Regions from separate parts of the Homo sapiens genome. Here region 2 is linked to region 1. The links are contacts of gene promoters, found by promoter capture Hi-C in human tissues and cell types (Jung and others, 2019). All regions are on one chromosome and are shown on one strand. Each heading gives the region's core, a stretch centred on a gene start or on the middle of the fragment in contact. The rest is flanking DNA. Distances are from core to core; before and after follow the strand shown. Region 1 holds the start of MLX (MAX dimerization protein MLX). Region 2 overlaps DNAJC7 (DnaJ heat shock protein family (Hsp40) member C7).

Region 1 (4,404 bases), core at 1-2,500:
GTGGGTACTGCCTGACCCTGCCCTCTCTTCCTCCCAACATCCTGGCCTGTCTGAAGGTGGAGAAAGCCTGGGCCCTCTTGCAGAAGCGCATTCCCAAGACTCATCAGGCCCTCGACTGAAAAGTTCTCAGTGGGGCCAGACTGGCTCCTGGAGCTGACAAGCGACCCCGTGGTGAGGAGAAATGGGGGCCTTGATGCTCACCCTGGTTCAGGCCCAGAGGTCCAAGCTATACTGTGCAGGACATGGCCAGGCCTGGTGGACACAGGAAGCCTACCCAACACGCTGGTATTTGGCCAACACTGAGGATGTGGTTCATGGGGGAGCAGTCCCCTCCCCACTCTTGCCCATGGGTGACTCTTACCCACAGCTGACTAGGGCCAGCGCAAATACTGGAACCTGTAACAGAATTAAAGGTGAATGTTCTGAGATGTTGCTTGTATGGTGTCTGCTTCCTGTTCCAATGCCCCTAAGTATCTTTGGGATCCTTAAGCCACAAGTGCAGGGCCCAGGCCTGAGCTGGAAGCCTGGGCAATGCAGTGGTTAAGAGAATGGCCTTTGAGGCTAGCCAGAGGCGAGCTTTGGCCCTCCCACTGACCAGCTGTGTTCTTCTGAGTAAGGTGTAGACTTTCTAGGTACTGCCGTGTTTTATTGTTTTTGTTTTGTTTTTAATATGAGAGGCCGCATAACCTAGCTAGCAGGTTCTTTGCAAGGGTTCATTCCACATGCATCCTGCCAGACACTGGGCTGGGTGTTGGAAGATCAGCCTTCCGCGCGCCAGGCGGGGCCTCTGCCCTCACAGAGCTTGCAGCCTGGTGGGGTCGGACGATGTGGCTGGGGGCTTCTCTGCCCGGTTCCTGACACACCGGCCAGCAGTGCAGGTCCGGTGAGCGCGGGGAGGCCGCCCTCAGGGTAACGTGGGGAGCCGGCCGGCCGGACAGTGCGCGTGCACACACTATCTGCGGCGGTGTGCTGACAAGCCAATTGAGGGGACTCCATCTTACAAAACGCGCTTCATGTCGCCGCCATTCCACTGCCTAACCCGGGGAGGGCAGGCACGGCGGGGAGCAGTCTCGAAGGAGGCTGGCGCCAGGCCAAGCGCCGGGCCTTGACGGCTGGAACCGTGGAGTAAAGTCTTTGGGCTGCGCATGCGCGATGCTTCGCCCTGCCCCACCTCTCGGTCGCGGATTGGCGGGCGCGGGTCACGTGGGCACGCCACCCGCTTCCTCGCCGCAGGGGGCCCGCCCGCTGGCCCGTTTCCGGTCCGGTGGGTACAAGATGACGGAGCCGGGCGCCTCTCCCGAGGACCCTTGGGTCAAGGCAAGCCCCGTGGGCGCGCACGCCGGCGAGGGGAGGGCGGGTCGGGCTCGTGCACGTAGGGGGGCCGGAAGACGAGGGGCTTCCCTCCTGTCCCCAAAGTCCCCCACGCTCTCCGTGCCCCGGGGCTGCAGAGAAGACAGCTCTCACCCCGCGTGTGCCAAGGTGGGGAGACAAACGAGGCGTGTGCGCGCGAGTCGGGGGAACGGGGCACTGGGGTGGAGTAGGGGCGGAAGGGATCATACACAGGGGAGGCACTCGCACGCCCTAGCCTGTGCCAGTCTCGGGGGACTCATTAAGCTGCCCGCGCACCCCGGGCTGTGTGTGTGCAAGCGCGCAGGGTGACAGAGGCGCCTTCCCGGAATGGGGGGCGCGCTGTGCGTGCCTGCAGTGGAAGGGGCGCCTCCCCCTAGGGGCGGAGGTCTGACGGGCCCTTCCCGTGCTCTGTGCCGCAGGTGGAGTATGCCTACAGCGACAACAGCCTGGACCCCGGTGAGTAGCTGCCCCATCTTAAGCTCTAGAGGGACACTCCCGCCCAGGCTCTCTAGATTCTTGTGGCGTTGCCAACCACGCCTGAGCACAGTCCACTCTCCCTGAGCAGAGTTCCTGGCTTGAGACAGCAGGAGCTGAAGGACAAGGGCAGAAAACAACTGAGGGTGACACCTAGTTCCCTCTGCTCTGGAACAGGGAAGTGGTGGAACTGATCACTCACCACTCAGTGGAGCAGCTGATCACTCACACCCTCATCACGTCCACATGCCCGTTTGTGAGCCAGGGGGGTATCATGCAGGCCTATGGAGCAGTGTAGACACTAGGGAGCAGAGCACTGCAGCGTGGTCTGGCAGGAAGTGGGGGGCCCAGTATGGTTGGCTTTGGGTTGAAGGGAAGAGGTCAGCATTTAAGAAAGCCATTGTGTGGCCGGGCGCGGTGGCTCACCCCTGTAATCCCAGCACTTTGGGAGGCCGAGGCAGGCGGATCACGAGGTCAGGAGACCGAGACCATCCTGGCTAACACGGTGAAACCCCGTCTCCACTAAAAAATACAAAAAAATTAGCCGGGCGTGGTGGCGGGCGCCTGTAGTCCCAGCTACTCGGGAGGCTGAGGCAGGAGAATGGCGTGAACCTGGGAGGCGGAGCTTGCAGTGAGCCGAGATCGCGCCACTGCACTCTAGCCTGGGCGACTGAGCGAGACTCTGTCTAAAAAAAAAATAAATAAATAAAAGAAAGCCATTGTGTCCTACAGGTGTCTGAGGGTCTGGCAATGTTCCCCACCCCACCCCTTAGTGATTGGGGCCTCTCTTTTCCAGGGCTTTTTGTAGAAAGCACCCGCAAGGGGAGTGTAGTGTCCAGAGCTAATAGCATCGGTTCCACCAGTGCCTCTTCTGTCCCCAACACAGGTAGGCAGTAACATCCCCCCCGACCTCGGGGGGCTCAGATATGTCATAATTGTAGTACCTTTCCTAGACAGGGAAGCCCCAGCCATCCACACAGGGGTGCTGGAGCCAAAGTATCAGACACAAGGTCTCACCATCTTTCACCTCATCTGGAACATTAGGTGGTTCTGTCCATCTGCCTTCTCTGGACACCAGGTTCTTCCCAGCTGGGGAAAGGTGGGCTAGCTGGACCCCACTGGGCCCCAAGATGACCTTTCCCTGCCCCCATCTCTGAGCGTAGATGATGAGGACAGTGATTACCACCAGGAGGCCTACAAGGAGTCCTACAAAGACCGGCGGCGGCGCGCACACACTCAGGCTGAGCAGAAGAGGAGGGACGCCATCAAGGTGAACAGGGAGGCCTGTGCCTCAGCCAGTGCGGGAGGGCCCTGCATAGTTTAGCTTCCCTGTGCCCTGACCCACTCAGACAGTCCCAGGCACCCTAGGGGGTGGGCAGGTAGTATAGTCCCAGGCACAAACACCTCCCTTGCAGCCTTCCCACCCCATTGAGTTTGTGAGCATAGAACTTGGTGTCATGGAGGAACTTTGTGCCATTTTGCTTTAATCTCTCAGGGTTAAAGAACCCATTTCCCCTGCTGTTTCCACAGAGAGGCTATGATGACCTTCAGACCATCGTCCCCACTTGCCAGCAGCAGGACTTCTCCATTGGCTCCCAAAAGCTCAGCAAAGCCATCGTTCTACAAAAGAGTATGGCTAGGGAAAGCACTGGAGGGGATGGAGCCAAGCGGGGCTGTGAAGAGGCCAGTGCCTCCTACCCACCCATGGCTCGGCCTTGGTGTGGTGATTGCCATGGGATAGTTGGGGTCTGGGGTAAGGGGAACAAAGTCAGCCTTATCTTCTTGGTTGAGAATACTTCTGTACCTGTCCTTTTTTTCTTGCCCCCACCCTAGCCATTGACTACATTCAGTTTTTGCACAAGGAGAAGAAAAAGCAGGAGGAGGAGGTGTCCACGTTACGCAAGGATGTCACCGCCCTAAAGATCATGAAAGTGTAAGAGGGGTGCTGAATGGGGGGAACCAGAACTTCTGAGGCAACTTCATTGCACACCCTCCCTTGTTCAAAGGCCACATCAGTTACTGCTGTACAGATAATACTCTTAGTTCCTGAGCTAGCCAGTAGGACTGTGTATCCCCAACTGTCCTTACACATGGCAGACACTCAGGAAATGCCTGTTGGATTAATGTAAGGAAGGTTGGAGAGAGAGGGCCACCTTTCCTGACCTGGAAGCAGTATCTCCCTGATACTGAACCCCACCCAGAAGCTCTCTGGGGCTGCCATTCCTGGGAGTACACAGGATAGTCCCGTCATTCTTCTTGGGTGGGCGGAGCTGCTGCAGCACCTCAGCCCTGGCCTGCATGCTTTTAGGAACTATGAGCAGATTGTGAAGGCACACCAGGACAACCCCCATGAAGGGGAGGACCAGGTCTCTGACCAGGTCAAGTTCAACGTGTTTCAAGGCATCATGGATTCCCTGTTCCAGTCCTTCAATGCCTCCATCTCAGTGGCCAGCTTCCAGGAGCTGTCAGCGTGTGTCTTCAGCTGGATCGAGGAGCACTGTAAGCCTCAGGTATGGGGCAACAATAGGCACAGGGTCTGCGGTTTTCTCTACCATCAAGCAAAGTGGCCCAAGCCATCAG
Region 2 (4,452 bases), core at 1,815-4,314, 590 kb before region 1:
CTTGCAGTGAGCAGAGATCGCGCCACTGCACTCCAGCCTGGGCGACAGAGTGAGACTCCGTCTCAAAACAAAACAAAACCTCTTCACTAGTTTTTGACTGCTTATAGATCTTCTTAACTGCTAGGCAGAGGAACATGTTTATTGTGGTGAACCTAGGTTTATTAAACACAAATACCCCCACACTGAACTGGAGAGGACTCAGCATTATCTATATAGTACCATCATTCTTATTTTAAATTCCGGCTGGGTGCGGTGGCTCACGCCTGTCATCCCAACACTTTGGGAGGCCAAGATGGGCGGATCACACAAAGTCAGGAGTTTGAGACCAGCCTGGCCAACATGGTGAAACCCCGTCTCTACTAAAAATATAAAAATTAGCCGGGTGTGGCTGCAGGTGCCTGTAATCCCAGCTACTCAGGAGGCTGAGGCAGGAGAATTTCTTGAACCTGGGAGGTGGAGGTTGCCGTGAGCTGAGACTGCACCACTGCACACCAGCCTGGGTGACAGAGTAAGACCATGTCTCAAAAACATAACAACAAAAAAAAATTAAATAAATAAATAAGTTGCAATGGAAGGCCAGGCACAGTGGCTCACGCCTGTAATCCCAGCACTTTGGGAGGCCAAGGCCAGTAGATCACTTGCGGTCAGGAGTTCAAGACCAGCCCGGCCAACATGGTGAAACCCTGTCTCTACTAAAAATATAAAAATTAGCTAGGCATGGGGGTGGATGCCTGTAATCCCAGCTGCTCAGGAGGCTGAGGCAGGAGAATTGCTTGAACCCTGGAGGCAGAGGTTGCAGTGAGCCAAGATGGCACTACTGCACCCAGACTGGGCTCAGTCTTAAAAAAAAAAAAAAAAAAAAAAAGGCCGGGCGCGGTGGCTCACGCCTGTAATTCCAGCCCTTTGGGAGGCCGAGGTGGGTGGATCACGAAGTCAGGAGTTCCAGATCAGCCTGGCCAATATGGTAAAACCCCGTCTCTACTTAAAATACAAAAATTAGCTGGGCGTGGTGGCGCACACCTGTAGTCCCAGCTACTCGGGAGGCTGAGGCAGAAGAATCACTTGAACCCTGGAGGCGGAGGTTGCAGTGAGTCGAGATGGTGCCACTGCACTCCAGCCTGGGTGACACAGCAAGACTCCGTCTCAAAAAACAAAACAAAACAAAAAACAAAATCCCAATAGATTTTCTTAGTGGAAGAGATGGTAGGTCTGTTCACCATTCACAGGTCAGGTCCTCTTTTTTTTTTTTTTTTTGAGACAAGTCTTGCTCTGTCGCCAGGCTGGAGTGCAGTGGTGCGATCTCAGCTCATTGCAACCTCCGCCTCCCGAGTTCAAGCGATTCTCCTGCCTCAGCCTCCCAAGTAGCTGGGACTACAGGCGTGCGCCACCATGGCTAGCTAATTTTTGTATTTTTCATAGAGACGGGGTTTCACCATGTTGGGCAGGATGGTCTCAATCTCTTGACCTTGTGGTCCGCCCACCTTGTTCTCCCAAAGTGATGGGATTACAGGCGTGAGCCACCATGCCCAGCAAATTTTTTGGCAGACAACTTAGAGTGAAGACTGACTGAATTAATTAATTAATTTTTGAGATGGAGTCGCACTCTGTAACCCAAGCTGGAGTACAGTGGCGCAATCTCAGCTCACTGCAACCTCTGCCTCCTGGGCTCAAGAGTTTTTGGTGCCTCAGTCTCCTGAGTAGCTTGGACCACAGGCATGCACCACCATGCTCAGCTAATTTTTTTGTATTTTAGTAGAGAGTACAATTTTTTTGGTATTTTGTATGTTGCCCAGGGTGGTCTTGAACTCCTGAGCTCAGGTGATCTGCCCGCCTTGGCTTCCCAAAGTGCTGGGATTACAGGCGTAAGCCACCGCGCCCAGCTCACAGGTCAGGGCCTCTTATCTCTGACAGCCCACAGTGAGCAACAATATTGACAATAGGTGTGCTTTATATCATGCTAAATCTTTTTGGGAAATTAAAATCTGTGAGTGTTTATAGGAATGTATGACATACATAAATGTCAGCATACACTTTGCAGTGGGTAAAAAAGAACTTCCAGATAATAGGAAAATGCTCATATTCCTTACCACATACAGCCCTTATGGCCTGTGAGCTCTGATCCAGCTACTTGCCGGCCTTCCACCACCACCTGCCTCTAGCACCCTATCCCTTTATCTTCCCTAGACCAAGCCCCCTGCAGATCCCCAAAGAGGCCATGCTTTGCTTTTTTAGTGGGGAGGGATGGAGTCTCACTCTGTTGCCCAGGCTGGAGTGCAGTAGCGCCATCTTGGCTCACTGCAACCTCCACCTCCCGGGTTCAAGTAGCTGGGATTACAGGTGTGCACCACCACACCTGGCTAATTTTTCTTTTTTCTTTCTTCTTATTATTTTTTTTAATTGAGACAAAGTCTTGCTCTGTCGCCCAGGATGGAGTACAGTGGGACAATCTCGGCTCACTGCAACCTCCGCCTCCTGGGTGCAAGCGATTCTCATGCCTCGGCCTCCCGAGTAGCTGGGATTACAGGCGCCCACCACCACACCTGGCTAATTTCTGTATTTTAGTAGAGACGAGGTTTCACCATGTTGGCCAGGCTGGTCTCAAACTCCTGACCTGGTGATCAACCTGCTTTGACCTCACAAAGTGGTGAGATTACAGGCATGAGCCACCGCGCCCAGCCTAATTTTTGTATTTTTAGTAGAGACAGGGTTTCACCATGTTGGCCAGGCTGGTCTCAAACTCCTGACCTCAAGTGATCTGCTTGCCTTGGCCTCCCAAAGTGCTGGGATTACAGGCATGACCCATGGGGCCATGCTTTTCTGCACTTCCAAGCCTTCCCTTGCTAGTGCTCGCCTCCTCAGAGCTCACTGCACACTGTGAACCTGCCACATTTGACTGCATTTGTTTGACTCCATGTCTATTACTGTTTGGACCAGGGATCAGATTTGGCCCAAATAGACTCTCCCTCTGGAGCATCTTTGGAAAAAATTCTAACATTCTACAGCTGTCAAATTCATCCCAGGCTGCCCCAGCCAACTCACCACCCATATTCATGCCCTCCTCATCTAGGTCCTGTCCACTGTCATAGCGAGTCTTTTTCTTGGGATCAGAGAGGATAGTAAAGGCCTCTCCAACTTCCTTGAACTTCTTCTCCTCCTCCTTCTGAACCTCAGCACTGGCTCCACTATGCCGATCTAAAGTGGGGAGTAAAAGAACAACTCAGTGGAAATCAAAGTTTCAAGAAAACAAAGTTTAAGAGAAAAACTACTTTCTGTCTAATTTTGGAATTTGGCACTTCCCAAAATTTGGAGGGTCCACAAGTCTGCAACACCTTATTCTCAGCTGAAGGACCTCTCCAAGGGGTCCCCTCTGGACTGAGTGTGGCAGTTGGCCTGCCCTGCGGGTTCTTCCCACTGAGCCCACTCCCCGCACCTACTCTACCTGGATGGTGCATCAAGGCCCGTTTCCGATAAGCTTTCTTGATCTCGTCCTCAGAGGCATTCTTGTCCACTCCTAGAATCTTGTAGTAATCTTTCCTCTTACTCTTCTTCAGTTCCAGCTGCGCATTTTTTAGGAGCTGTTTGTGTTCTACAGGAAGACATCTGGCATCAGTGGACAAATCTGACTCTGGTTTTTTCCTCACCAGGTCTCAGCCCAGCTGCCTGGGAGTTAGAGGCCTTGTTAACCATGCCAGGGACTTTTACGGTGCTTTCTTCTGGAGATTAGAAAAAAAATCTACTCGGCCAGGCACGGTGACTCATGCCTGTAATCGCAGCACTTTGGGAGGCCTGCATCAATGAGAGATGCAGGTAAATGAGACAGAAAAGGGAACTCTAAACACAGGTTTGCTTCTATTTCGGTAGCACGAAAGAAAGGAGGGGCCCTTGGCCCAAGATGGGAGGAATCAAGCTTGACAGAATGGATCACCCGAGGTCAGGAGTTCGGGACTAGCCTGTCCAACATGGTGAAACCCCATCCCTACTAAAAATACAAAAAATTAGCCAGGCGTGGTACCATGTGCCTGTAATCCCAGTTATTCGGGAGGCTGAGGCAGGATAATTGTTTGAACCTGGGAGGCAAAGGTTGTAGTGAGCTATGATCATGCCATTGCACTCCAGCCTGGGTGACAGAGCAGGACTCCATCTTAAAAAAAAAAAAAAGAAAAAGAAAAAAGAAAATCTACCCAGACTTAGGTTCCTCACTTTAGCCTCACCACACAAAAAATGAAATGAAAACGACAGGGAGGATCTGGAACCAGAAAATAGGTGCCTCATGCCCCAACCCAAGATATCTGTTCACTTTTTTTTTCTTTTTTTTGTTTTTGTTTTTGAGATGAAGTCTCGCTCCGTCACCCAGGCTGGAGTATAGTCGCGCAATCTTAGCTCACTGCAACCTCCGCCTCCTGGGTTCAAGGAATTCTCGTGCCCCAGCCTCCTGAGTGGCTGGGATTACAG

Evidence for each region. Contacts are between HindIII fragments. The study calls those that stand out against the background at their distance.
Region 2: a fragment that was not itself captured here is called in contact with the fragment with the promoter of MLX in region 1 in 1 of the 25 tissues and cell types used here (spleen).

The regions. Positions count from the first base shown.
Region 1 is chr17:42,565,850-42,570,253 of GRCh38, forward strand. It overlaps MLX (MAX dimerization protein MLX), which reads left to right and starts at 1,251. Exons shown (of 8, transcript NM_198204.2): 1 at 1,251-1,317; 2 at 1,770-1,806; 3 at 2,621-2,710; 4 at 2,988-3,094; 5 at 3,355-3,454; 6 at 3,658-3,757; 7 at 4,133-4,334. The coding sequence starts at 1,276. COASY (Coenzyme A synthase) reads left to right here. Exons shown (of 9, transcript NM_025233.7): 9 at 57-428. The coding sequence ends at 119. RefSeq lists enhancers at 1-9, 10-516, 723-772, 1,530-2,037, 1,913-2,002 and a silencer at 1,113-1,512. The HindIII fragment of the contact is 10,895 bases long and covers 1-4,404 here.
Region 2 is chr17:41,978,816-41,983,267 of GRCh38, forward strand. It overlaps DNAJC7 (DnaJ heat shock protein family (Hsp40) member C7), which reads right to left. Exons shown (of 14, transcript NM_003315.4): 11 at 3,440-3,586; 12 at 3,040-3,192. Among named protein-coding and RNA genes, the nearest start is that of CNP, 14 kb to the left of the region's middle. The HindIII fragment of the contact is 3,240 bases long and covers 1,445-4,452 here.